Regions from separate parts of the Homo sapiens genome. Here all the other regions are linked to region 4. Evidence: promoter capture Hi-C in 16 types of primary human blood cells and fetal thymus (Javierre and others, 2016). All regions are on one chromosome and are shown on one strand. Each heading gives the region's core, a stretch centred on a gene start or on the middle of the fragment in contact. The rest is flanking DNA. Distances are from core to core; before and after follow the strand shown. Region 1 holds the start of KRTAP21-1 (keratin associated protein 21-1). Region 2 holds the start of KRTAP21-3 (keratin associated protein 21-3). Region 3 holds the start of KRTAP19-6 (keratin associated protein 19-6). Region 4 holds the start of KRTAP20-3 (keratin associated protein 20-3).

What was found. Contacts are between HindIII fragments. The CHiCAGO score rates a contact against its expected background, and 5 or more counts as called.
Region 1: the fragment with the promoter of KRTAP21-1 here is called in contact with the fragment with the promoter of KRTAP20-3 in region 4 in 1 of 17 cell types (neutrophils); the score reaches 9.1 in neutrophils.
Region 2: the fragment with the promoter of KRTAP21-3 here is called in contact with the fragment with the promoter of KRTAP20-3 in region 4 in 1 of 17 cell types (neutrophils); the score reaches 12.8 in neutrophils.
Region 3: a contact is called between the fragment with the promoter of KRTAP19-6 here and the fragment with the promoter of KRTAP20-3 in region 4, in 1 of 17 cell types (neutrophils). The highest score is 7.5, in neutrophils.

The regions. Positions count from the first base shown.
Region 1 is chr21:30,753,763-30,756,814 of GRCh38, reverse strand. KRTAP21-1 (keratin associated protein 21-1) reads left to right here and starts at 1,387. Exons shown (of 1, transcript NM_181619.2): 1 at 1,387-1,800. The coding sequence starts at 1,437. The coding sequence ends at 1,676. The HindIII fragment of the contact is 7,815 bases long and covers 1-3,052 here.
Region 2 is chr21:30,717,373-30,720,602 of GRCh38, reverse strand. It overlaps KRTAP21-3 (keratin associated protein 21-3), which reads left to right and starts at 1,826. Exons shown (of 1, transcript NM_001164435.1): 1 at 1,826-2,078. The coding sequence starts at 1,844. The coding sequence ends at 2,020. All of the region lies in intron 2 of LOC105372773 (a long non-coding RNA gene), which reads left to right. The HindIII fragment of the contact is 10,011 bases long and covers 1,701-3,230 here.
Region 3 is chr21:30,540,573-30,543,378 of GRCh38, reverse strand. KRTAP19-6 (keratin associated protein 19-6) reads left to right here and starts at 1,515. Exons shown (of 1, transcript NM_181612.3): 1 at 1,515-1,844. The coding sequence starts at 1,546. The coding sequence ends at 1,722. The HindIII fragment of the contact is 6,762 bases long and covers 970-2,806 here.
Region 4 is chr21:30,641,060-30,644,147 of GRCh38, reverse strand. KRTAP20-3 (keratin associated protein 20-3) reads right to left here and starts at 1,284. Exons shown (of 1, transcript NM_001128077.1): 1 at 1,012-1,284. The coding sequence starts at 1,259. The coding sequence ends at 1,125. The HindIII fragment of the contact is 10,269 bases long and covers 1-3,088 here.

The sequences.
Region 1 (3,052 bases), core at 138-2,637, 110 kb before region 4:
GAAAAAATTGAGACAGAGATCTATTTATGCTTTTTTTAAGGGACTAAACATAGCAGAGAAATGAGATGAGACGAGTGACAGATAGCAGAAAAAAAAGGAAAGATTTCCAACTGAAGGGAAAATGTAATCCACAGTAGCAATGAGGAAAGGCATCCTGTAGAAAGTGATTCCAGATCTGACTTTTGATGTATAAACAGAAGGTTTTTTTGGTTGATAATTGAGGGTGATGAGAAAAATACTAATGGCAGAAAAAATGATACTAATTTTCCTCTTTTGTATCTTGAAAAGGTAAGTGTGATAGAGAGGATTGTTGGGAAGAAGGAGGGCACCTCGGATTTCAAAATCACGATGAATATTTTTGTAGAAGATTGAGAACTTGTAATAAGTGGGTAATTGAGAATTTTGAATGAGTAGTGTGAAATGCGTGTATGGAAACGGGACAAAATTTATTTTTGTGCTACTTTATATCATAGAAGGGTTAGTTGTTAATGGTGGGCTTTTGCTGTCAGTAACCTAAAATTGTCCACTATCCTTTAGCTTCTGAAGTAAATGTCCAAGGAATAGTAGTGAAAGGAGAAGAAAAATGGTTTATTAAATTCTAGGAATGTATCTGTATTTCATCATGCAAAACTTTGATGAAATCTGTATTGGAGGAAAGAACTGAGTTTCTGGTCGAATGAATTTTTTTACTTCCTTATCCAAATGAAGCTGTTTAGTTTTAAAAAGGCTCCTCAATGACAATTACTTATATAGCTGAAGAAATGGGAGACAAAAGGAGGGCTTCTCTGCCTCCCCAGGGTCTTGGTTTGCCTGGTGGATGGAAGGAAAATGTAGGAAGCACTTGCAGATAGCATACATTCTGGCTTTGAATGATCAGATGTGAATATGTTTCTTGGGATTTGAGGGAGGTTGGACAAGGGGTAGGTGTGGAAGTGCAGAGTGAGTTGGAGAAAGAAGTCTGGCAAGAAGTTGTAATGACTCAGGAAAGGAGATAGGAGTGTCTCCTTCCCTATGGGTAGAGGTAGACATTTTAGGAAAAAAGAGAGGAAAAAAAGGATAAAATTTTGTTATTATCCTCCCAAAACTTGTTATGTAAGATATAAATTTACTGATAGGAGATTTTGAAAATTAGTATCAGCTTTATATTTGGGCACATGATTTCATTGAGGCAGTTCTTTGGCAGAGCAGATTAAAATGATGTTCCTGAAATGAAACTAGAGTCTCCAAAATAATTGGCTCATTTTAAGCAAAATATTATTGATGGTCAACAGTGACTGGCACATAATAATTGATTAAATATTTGTTGCCTAAGTCAGGGAATGAGTGATATGCTTTGGCAATTACTGACAGTATATAAAGGTCTCAGGGAAGTAGAAGACATCCACACCTCAGAAGCATCTTCTTGAAACCCATCTCAATTCTCTCCTCTTGACAACATGTGTTGCAACTACTACGGCAACTCCTGTGGCTATGGCTCCGGCTGTGGCTGTGGCTATGGCTCTGGCTCTGGCTGTGGCTGTGGCTATGGAACTGGCTATGGCTGTGGGTATGGCTGTGGGTTTGGCTCCCATTATGGCTGTGGTTATGGAACTGGCTATGGCTGTGGATATGGCTCTGGCTCTGGCTACTGTGGCTACCGGCCATTTTGCTTTAGAAGATGCTATTCTTCCTGCTAAAACATCACTGTCGGAGGACCATTTGCTTCTAAAATGACACGTCTGAAGATAATGCTGATTCAAGGATTCGTACTCCAAGATTTCTATATCCAAGAATTACATGCTTGACAGAATCTTCGACCTCTAGCCTCACATTTCTTTGAATGAAATCATGGCCATAGGATCCATGGTGTCATCTGACTGTTTTCCAAATGTTATCTTTTGCTCCCTTAATCTCTGATTCTCTGTTATGACTGTGTTAATGATCATAACATCTACAGTTGCGGAAGTCAATCATTTGTAATAAAAATGGTTCTTTATTCCTAAAAATCTTTGTGTACTTGCTTGTGAATTACTCTTTCTTGGGGTGTTTTGGAATCTCTTGAAAATTGGGCTAACAGTATGTTGGCTGAACCTTAGGTACTTCCTTGATATAACGCAATTATTTCCTCTTATGCTTGCATCATAAATAATGTCTTCTCTACCTGCTTCTCATATCCCACATGCTCAGGTTCTCACATACCCAAGCACAAATCACAGAGTATTTCAGAACTGTGCTTTGGAAATGGCACTGAGTGTCTAGAATGGAGCTGGAGGGGGAAAGGGAGGCAAAGTGACACCTATTCAGGATGTTATGACAAAAGTCTCAGGGAGGAGATATAGCCTGAGTGCTTAAAGAAGTAATATAATCCCAGCACTTTGGGAGGCTGAGGTGGGTGGATCACCTGAGGTCAGGAGTTCGAGACCAGCCTGGCCAACATTGTGAAACTCTGTTTCTACTAAAAATACAAAAATTAGCTGGGCTTGGTGGTGCGTGCCTGTAATTCCATCTACTCAGGAGGTGGAGACAGGAGAATTGCTTGAACCCTTAGGAGGTGGAGGTTGCAGTGAGCCGAGATTGCTTGGGTGACACACTGAGACTCCATCACACACACAAAAAAAAGTAATGCAATAGGAGAGATCACTTCCAGGATTGTTGAAAATTTTGAGTCAGGGTCAAGTGTTAGGCAAGAGGAAATAAAAACCTAAAAAAGGGTAAGTTCAAAGAAAAAATATACTATCAAATGTATCTACATCTGACAAAAGTACAAATATATATGTTTGCTTACATGGAGGTTGAGAAATGCTATTTAATTCACTTAAATATTTTTGAATAGACACCATCCTGAAGACACAGAAGAAAAATTATAAGCAAATGTTCTGCTCTCAGAATGTTTATAGTCTAACAGATGAAGATTTAAAGAAGCAAAAATAGGCCAGATGTGGTGGCTCATGCCTGTTAATCCCTGCACTTTGGGAGGCTGAGGCAGGTGGATCACTTGAGGTCAGGAGTTCGAGACCAGCCTGGCCAACATGGCGAAACCCCGTCTCTACTAAGAATACAAAAATTAGCCAGG
Region 2 (3,230 bases), core at 577-3,076, 76 kb before region 4:
GACTCCGTCTCAAAAAAAAAAAAAAAAAAAAAAAAAAGATGACCTGTTTGACTTAATGTGGCCTATTTGCTTGTGCTGTATAAAAACGCCAACAGTCTCTTTAGTGATTTGGAAACTTGAACACTCATAAGATTTTCATATTTGAACATATACTCTAAGACGATAACTTTCAAAAGAACTTAAAAGTTATTTCTCAACTTAAAAAGTTATTTTGTTACACAAATATGTTAGTTTATTGAAGAATGTCAAGCTGGTTTTCTTTACACAGTTGTCCTCCTAAGGATAATTAAAATGCTATCATGGCGTTCCAGTTTGTACTCCTACTACAATACCTGGCATTTAGGTGCAAGTAAAACTTACAGCGCATATGTAAATTGTGAATACTCTGAAGGTGTTTTTATTTTATAGTGTTTGATAGCACATTTTAAAATCTTGGAAACTCTATTTCTTGGAATACATTTTAATACCTCCCAGTCCTAGTGTTCCTGGAAACATAATTGGAAAATAAAATGCCACAAATTCAATGCAACCATGGCTAGTGCTCAAGGAAAGATCTTTGCTCAAGAGAATAATTTAGCAAATAATGGTTTCGAAGAAATAGGACATTACTAAGTACACTGGATAAATGGTTGTGATTTCTGTATCTCAAAATATTGAGCTGATTATGCCATTAATTTGCTCAAAATCTTCTCTGGTTCTCCATTACCTTTAGAATGAATTCCACACTTTTTACCTTAATATTCAAAGCTCTTTATTATTTGGCCCCAGTTTATTATACTTTTTTAAAATCTATTTTATTCCCTAAAGAAAAAAAGAAATTCCTGCCTTCACAGATATCCTATATTCCAGTGAGAAAAACAGTCAACAAAATTAGTAAAATGCAAGTCTATCATATGGTGATAAATGGCTTGATAAATGCTAAGTAGAGAATAAAGATATATCTGTGGGAGGGTGCTAGCTATAAATAATACTGTTCAGGGAGGGCCTCCTTGAGTGACATTTGAACACACTCTGATGGCAATGAGGGAATGAGTCATAGATATGGGTGTTAAATTGTAAAAACTGCAGGTGAAAGCCCAGCATGGATGAAGGCCCTAAGTGGACCTGGTCTGGATTGTTTTGAGGTCTATTTCATAGGATTTCTCTTTCCTTTTTCTCTAACCGCATCAATCTGAGACTTTTTTTGTGTAAATGTTTCTCTTCCTTACTAAGCTGGGAGTTCATTGAAGGTCTGTTCTTGGTCTTATTTATGTTTTTCATTTTTATTTTTATGTTATTTTCAGCAGTGCCTACTGTCATGTTCTGTTTTTTAGGAAAGTTCTCAATAAATTCTAATATTATAGAATTGAACGCATGTTTCTCAATTTAGCCTTCCTATGCCTATCCTCTCCTGAGTAGTACAGTTGTGGATTGGATGGTAATACTGGTGGCACCTGAAAAGGTAGGAATCACTAAGCCCCTTCCTTTCTCTAGGAGGCTGGGGATGGGGATTCTCAATGTTTTGGGTTAGAGCTGAGGGAAGTACTTCCCTGCAAGATTTAGCATCATGATATTTGTGGAGTGTACATTTGGGGCTCACTGAGAACATGTATACAGAGTGTACAAATTACTTTTTACAGTCTATGATTAACTTGCAGGAATTAAATGAAGGTCTAAAATGAGAGGCTTTCTTAGGACACAGAATAAAACAACAACAAGCTTGTTAAATATAAATTCTTGTGGGAATGAGAAGGCAAAGTAGGGATGGCACACACTTTGCAGACCTCTTATTATATAGAAAGATCCCAAGGGTTCCAAACTCCAGAAATGCTGTTACCTGGCTGAATTCTCATCTCCTGACACTATGTATTTCAATTACAAAAGTGTGTGTGGGAGCTGTGGATTTGGCTCTTGCTATGGTTGTGGGTATGGCTGTATACACAGCACCCACTGTGGCTGTAACGGTTATTATGGTTGTTATGAAAATAAATATTCTGTTATAGATGATCTGATATTTTTTGCTTCTAAGAAATGCCATTGAGCATTGTTTCTTATTTAGTTTCTCAAAGATCTGTTCTGCTTTAATCACCTTCAATCCTGATAGTTCTCCGTTAGAGAAAAATGACTCATCTGGTGAAAACTCCATTTGTCTTCAAAGTACCTGTTAGTCATAGACATAATGTGGTTTCACTGAGAGATGGAAAATATGACTATTTTGAAATTTTGAAAAATATAAAATGCTCTTTGTGTGCGTGTGTGAGTCAACACCAATTTGGGGCATGTTTTACCCCCTTGAAAGCCAGACCACTATGTAGATTAGTTGATCCTTAGCTTCTTAGAAATTTCTTCTTAACTTTCAATAACTCTTTTTCTCTTTATCTTTTCTACTCTACATAAAACTTGAGTTATTTAATTGTCAGTATCCACCACATATTTAATATTAAATAAATATGTACCTGTTAATTAGATATACTTCTAAATATACAAAATGAAGAAAGGAAGTGGAATGATATCATCCTTAGTGTAGAATAGTAGATTATTATCAGCCAAAGAAAAGGGAGGAGGAGAGAGAATCACTGAAACATTTTTTTTTTTTTTCGAGATGGAGTCTCGCTCTGTCACCCAGGCTGGAGTGCAGTGGCGCGATCTTGGCTCACTGCAACCTCCGCCTCCCAGGTTCAAGTGATTCTCCTGCTTCAGCCTCCCAAGTAGCTGGGATTGAGGCACCCGCCACCGCGCCTGGCTAATTTTTGTATTTTTAGTAGAGACGGGGTTTCACCATGTTGGCCAGGCTGGTCTCGAACTCCTGACCTTATAATCCACCCGCCTTGGCTACACACACACACACACACACACACACACGAACACAATGATTCTAATTCTAATTCCGTCGGCCTTTTCTCAAACATTCTCATAGACAGTTCTGTCACTTTTTTTGGGATTCTGGTTAATATGAACTCCTTAGGAGACTTTGCCTAACATTCCACTTGAAATAGAAATGACATTCTTACACTATTTCCCTGTTCATCACCTTGCATCTACTTCTCCTCTTCCTCCTCTTCTCCCTTCTCCTCCTCCTTCTACTTCTCCTCATATCTTTCTCTCTCTCAAAATCAAAGTCAAAAATCAGTTGTTTTTTTCTTCAGTTATATTTGTTACATAATTATAAAATTATTTAAGAAAGCCCGGTGACAGAGTGAGACTCATCTAAAAAAAAAAAAAATTCCTGACTCCATTCCTGTGGTGGCGAA
Region 3 (2,806 bases), core at 266-2,765, 100 kb after region 4:
CATGAGCTACTACAGCAGCTACTATGGAGGCCTGGTATACATCCAAAGGAAGGGAAAACAGTATATCAAAGAGATATGTGCACTCCCATGTTTGTTGCAGCACTGTTCATAATAGCAAAGATTTGGAAGCAACCTAATTTTCCACCAACAGATGAATGGATAAAGAAAATGTGGTATGTATACACAATGGAGTACTAGTCAACCATAAAAAATAATGAGATCCTGTCATTTGCAACAGAATGGATGGAACTGGTCGTCATTATGCTAAGTGAAATAAGTCAGGCACAGAAAAACAAACTTTGTATGTTCTCACTTATTTGTGGGAGCTAAAAATTGAAAACAATTGAACTCATGGAGATAGAGACTAGAAGGATGGTTAACAGAGAATGGAAAGGGGAGTAGGTGGGTGCAGGGTAGGGGTGGGGAGGGATGTGAGTGATGGAGGAGTAGGGGTGGTTAATGGGTACAAAGGAATAGAAATGATGAATAAGACCTAGTATTTGATAGCACAAAAGTGTGGCCATACTAAGTTATACTCTCTTAGTTATTTTAAAATGTATAATTAAATTGCATTTAAATTAAATTATTGATTTAATCGAACATTTTAAAATAAGAGAGTGTAATTGAATTGCTTTAACACAAAGGATAAATGCTTGAGGGGATGGATACCCTATTTATCATTTACCAGTGATTATTACTCCATTAACCAGTGATTAGTATGCATTGTCATGTCTGTATAAAAGTATTTCATATACCCCATAGATATATATACTCTACTATGTATTCTTAAAAATAAAATTTGAAAAAAGAAAAATAATATTTAATGGAACTTCATGGGAAAAGTGTATGCAGAGGAAAAGGTACACTTTTGAAGTTAATGGATGAATAAAAAATTGGGAAGAAGCCTAACAAAAAATTGGCAGAGGAAGCTAATTGAAGGTTTCTCATAGAAATTAAGGCAAGAAAGCTTTACAAAAGAATGAATGGATGGAAGGTTAGCAATGTCAAAGGTCAATTAAAGTTCAAATGAGTCAAAAACCAAGGTTTCCTCTAAATTTGACTACTGGAAATCACTAATGACTTTGTGACTATGCCCTGACTACCATGAAGAGAAGTCCTTGGGTTCTGGGAATGAAGTAACCAAGACGATGGACTGCAAATTAAAAAGAAAAGCAATATGAGGTTATGTAATTACAGCGTTACTGGAAGCTATCAACCCGATTAGACCATTTTAATTACAACACCAGCCTGGCCTTTGAAGTGGCTATAATCATTTTTCATCTTCAAAATATTTTGTTCTTAGGAATGCAAACTAAAGACTAAAAGTCTTTAAATAATAGTTTGGACCCTTTGTTACATAAGAAAAGAAAAAAAATAAACAATTGTTAGACTTAAAATTATTCTGTTATGTGGAAATAAGATCACCTGTCATTGTTGTTCATGACACCCACTACTTAGAGTATAAAATCATTCTGAGAAGTTAGAGACACCTACACTCAGGAAACTCATCATTAGCATTGAACTGAATCTCTAGTCCCTGACACCATGAGATACTATGGCAGCTACTACAGAGGCCTGGGATATGGCTGTGGAGGCTTTGGTGGTCTGGGCTATGGCTGTGGCTGTGGAGGCTACAGATATGGCTCTGGCTATGGAGGCTATAGATATGGCTGCTGCCGCCCATCATGCCGTGAAGGATATGGATTCTCTGGATTCTACTAAAAAACTTGCTGATTCTCATACTCTAACTCCAAGATCTTGCCCGTATGCTTCAGCAAGGCGAACACTTTTCTCAATGTAGAGAAAATACCTACCATTTTTTGGCTTCATGCTCCAGAAGGAACTAGCCATCAGTTTTTATGGAAGAATCTGGAATCATTACATTGAATCAGGGTTTCACCTATTATTATTTAGTCACTGACATCTGTTGTGACATGTATTTTAAAATAGTTTTAAATAAACACGTTTAACTTGAATAGCAAACATGGCTTTATCAATTCATTTTAGTACATTTCAAATGCATTGATGAGACTTCAATCAAGCTGTTTGTCTTCTTTCCTCTGAATTGGTGTTTTTATTTCAACAGTTTTGCCTCAATAATATATTTTATTCAACATATATTCATTGTGTGTCTCCAAATTTGGGCACCATTCTAAGTCCTGAAGATATAAAAGAATAAGATGGACAAAATCACTGTGTACTTTCATCTGTCTTTACTTTTTATCTGTTTTCAGTGGTTTTGTGTGTGATTTTGTTTTTAGAATATGATTATGTACACTATTATTTTTATGACTTAGTTTTAAACAATAACTTATTGCAATCTTCATTCCAATTAGTGTGTTTGTATTCTGAGGTTTATCTCAAAGCACAGTAATTCTATGTTAATCAATGAAAGCGAATTTTAAATAAAACATTGAGTTAATATAAATAATATTTGTAATAATACGTAAGGTCTAAAGAATGCTATCAAAGCTCGCATGTACCCAACACTGACTTATCAAATGTATAATGTCCTTTATGTATAATCAATTTTAAACTATTGAACATATGAGAATCTACTCTACCTCCTTGACAAGTTAAATTACTTGTCTTTCTGTGTTCCTACCTGTAGAGTTCAAGCCTTGCTTCCCAAAAGATATTATTTCTCAAAAGTAAACCTGAGGGATGTCTGAATTAAAAACACCGAGAGAGGCCGGGCACGCTGGCTCATGCTTGTAACCCCAGCACTTTGGGAGGCCGAGGCGGGTGGATCACCCAGGGTCAGGAGTTCGAGACCAGCCTGGTCAACATGGTGAAACCCCGTCTC
Region 4 (3,088 bases), core at 35-2,534:
CACCCATTGCAAAATATATATGGCCTTGATGTTCTAGTTTCTCTTCACTGCCCAGGGCTTCATTTCCTGCCAGTGACTTTGCCCACTGTTCTCTCAAGAAATAACATCAATTTATGACTTTGCAGTGCAATACTTTTTTCATGGCTTTGCATATTTGTTTCCCCTGCCTGGCATACACTTTACCTCCAATGTATTTTTCGTTGGTTAAAAATTTATTCAAATGTAACCTTCAATGAGAATATTTTTGATCTGTTTGCTCTACAATCTCGCTCTTTTGCATCCAAACATGAGCTTCTCCTCTGTGTTCCTACGTGGCTATTACATCACCTATCATGTTGTAGCATACATGTTTATTTAAACATTTGTTTTTCTGCTTAAAAACTCTTCTCCCATAAGTAACACTAAGACTTAACAGGAAGCCCTATATAGAAATTACTTAATGAGGACTTATTAAACAAGTGAGTAATTAATAAATTTAAAAAATGAATGACATTGGCCTGGCCAAAGTAAGTTTAATTAAAAATAAACCTAGAGCTCCCTACTCCTGAAACATATCAAAAAGTAATTTGCTTGGTAAATTATGAAAACACATCAGTTTGGAAGAGAAAAATGTAGTTAATCTGGGGCACTGATGTGGATTTAGTGTGAATTTAATGATGTGTGTTCTTTGCCTAGAATTAGATTGAATAACTAAGCATTATTTTTGTTTTTTTGAGATGGAATCTCATTTTGTTGCTCAGGCTGGAGTGCAGTGGTGCCATCTCGGCTGACTGCAACCTCTGCCTTTGGGTTCAAGTGATCCTCCTGCCTCAGCCTCCCCAGTAGCTGGGGCTACAGGCACCCACCACCACACCTGGCTATTTTTTTAACTTTTAGTAGAGATGGGATTTTGCCATGTTGGCCAGGCTGGTCTCGAACTCCTAACCCCAGGTGATCCACCCGCCTCGGCCTCCTAAAGTGCTGGGATTATAGGGAATCATTAAGAATTCTAATTGGGTTAAACAAATTAAAAAAAGTGTAGTAGAACAGCACCCCTGTCTCATAAGAAAATGGACCCAATTGTAGATATTATTCAGTCAGTGCCTGATAATAAGCATGTAGCATAATCATATTGGTGGCAGCAGTCAAATCCATACCCCACCACAGCCACATCTGTAGCCACAGTCCAGGATTCTAAAGGCACCAAAGCCAGAGGTATAACTATATTTACAGTCATAGCCATAGCCCAGTCCTCCGTAGTAGTTGCCATAGTAGCTCATTGTGTCAGGATTTAAGTCTCTAGCCTGAGAGGCCAGCATAAGTTTTAGTGCATAAAAACACTAAAATACTGGGTCTTTTATCAGTCTCAGTGGAGGTGTGACAAACCACAGGCACTCCTGACATTGTCATATAGACCAACCTGTATTTAAAAATCTCATTAATCTTGTATCTTTAGATTTTAAAAAAAGACTCCCTATCCTGATAAAATTGAGATTTTCTTCTCAGTATGTTATGATCCTGCCAAACAGCTGATAGACTTTAAAGGAAAAAAAAATACTGAGTTCCATGACCTTACTCACACTGATGCCGAATTTAACCTTTGTAGCTATGTTGGATGACATCACGTGGAGGAGGCAAATGCCATCCTCTTCCGATCACTTTGCTAATAATACCCTTCTTCTTATATGCATATTTAAATCTTAATCAACACAGCTGTGATGTTATCGCTATAAAACTTAGTAGCAAATACAGTGGACTCTTGAATACCATGAGTTTGAACTGCACAGATACGCTTATATTAAGCAGATTTTCTTCACCTCTGCCACTCCGGCAGCAAGACCAACCCCTCCTCCTCCTTCTCCTCCTCAACCTACTCAACATGAAGACAATAAGGCTGAAGACCTTTATGATGATCCACTTCCACTTAGTGAATAGTAAATCCATTTTCTCTTTTTCTTTATTTTCTTAATAAAATTTTCTTTTCTTTAGCCTACTTTATTATAGGAGTATAATCTCTCATTACAGGTAACATAAGCATGTATTAATCAACTGTTTATGTTATTGGTAAGGCTTCTGGTCAACAGTAGGCTATTAGTAGTTAAGTTTTTGGGGAGTCAAAAGTTATACTCAGATTTTCAACTGCGTGGAGGTTGGCACTCCTAATCCCTGCATTGTTCAAGGATCAACTGTGATTTATTCTGTACAAACTCCCACCAATCACATATTATTCTGTAGTTTTCCTATTGCTATGCTCTCTTAAAAGTAGTGCCCTTTTCTTGCCTGTTTAGTTCCTTCTTCTCCACACCTTAAGCATTCTTTAAAAAGTTGTTTGGTTGATTATCTTGTACCTGCACTGCAATGTAGATATGTTTCTTCGGAGAAAAGAAAAGCATTGAGAATCTTATCTGATTCCAAAGTCACAGGAACGTAAAGTAGACATTTTTGAGACCCAAATATAACAGAAGGCATGACTATTAATTTTTCTGTAGGGATATTGACTCTGTCTGTATCATGTACTTATATGTAGACTTAAGTTCTCAAAGGCAGGCTGAATCTAGATACTATCATTTCTTAAGATGATTAAAAATAATTGAAAATTTTCCTTCACCACTGACCTTTAGGGTAATCCCCGATTTGATCTGTTGTACTTCAGTCATCCACTTTTAGGCAGTGCTACCATATTGGCAGAACCATCTATAATCCAGGACTAATTTTTCCTTCTCCAACTGGAAAATCAGCATAAATTCATAGGTGTATGTTGAGAAAGAAGAGACAACTCAGCAGAGAGGAAACCATGAGAATCCAAGCCAATTGCTTCTGTAAGTTGTTTGTGCTTTCACAACTCCCTTAAGCCCAACCTTATGTTCCCCACCTTCACTTGATGACAGAGAGCTGGTGTGTATGCTCAACTTTCTGAATAAGAGGGCTAGAAAATTTGGGCTGAGATGATGGGGTTTTCTAGATATACAATCACGTCATCTGCAAACAGGGAACATTTGACTTCCTCTTTTCCTAACTGAATACCCTTTATTTCCTTTTCCTGCCTGATTGCCTTGGCCAGAACTTCCAACACTATGTTAAATAGGAGTGGTGAGAGAGGGCATCCCTC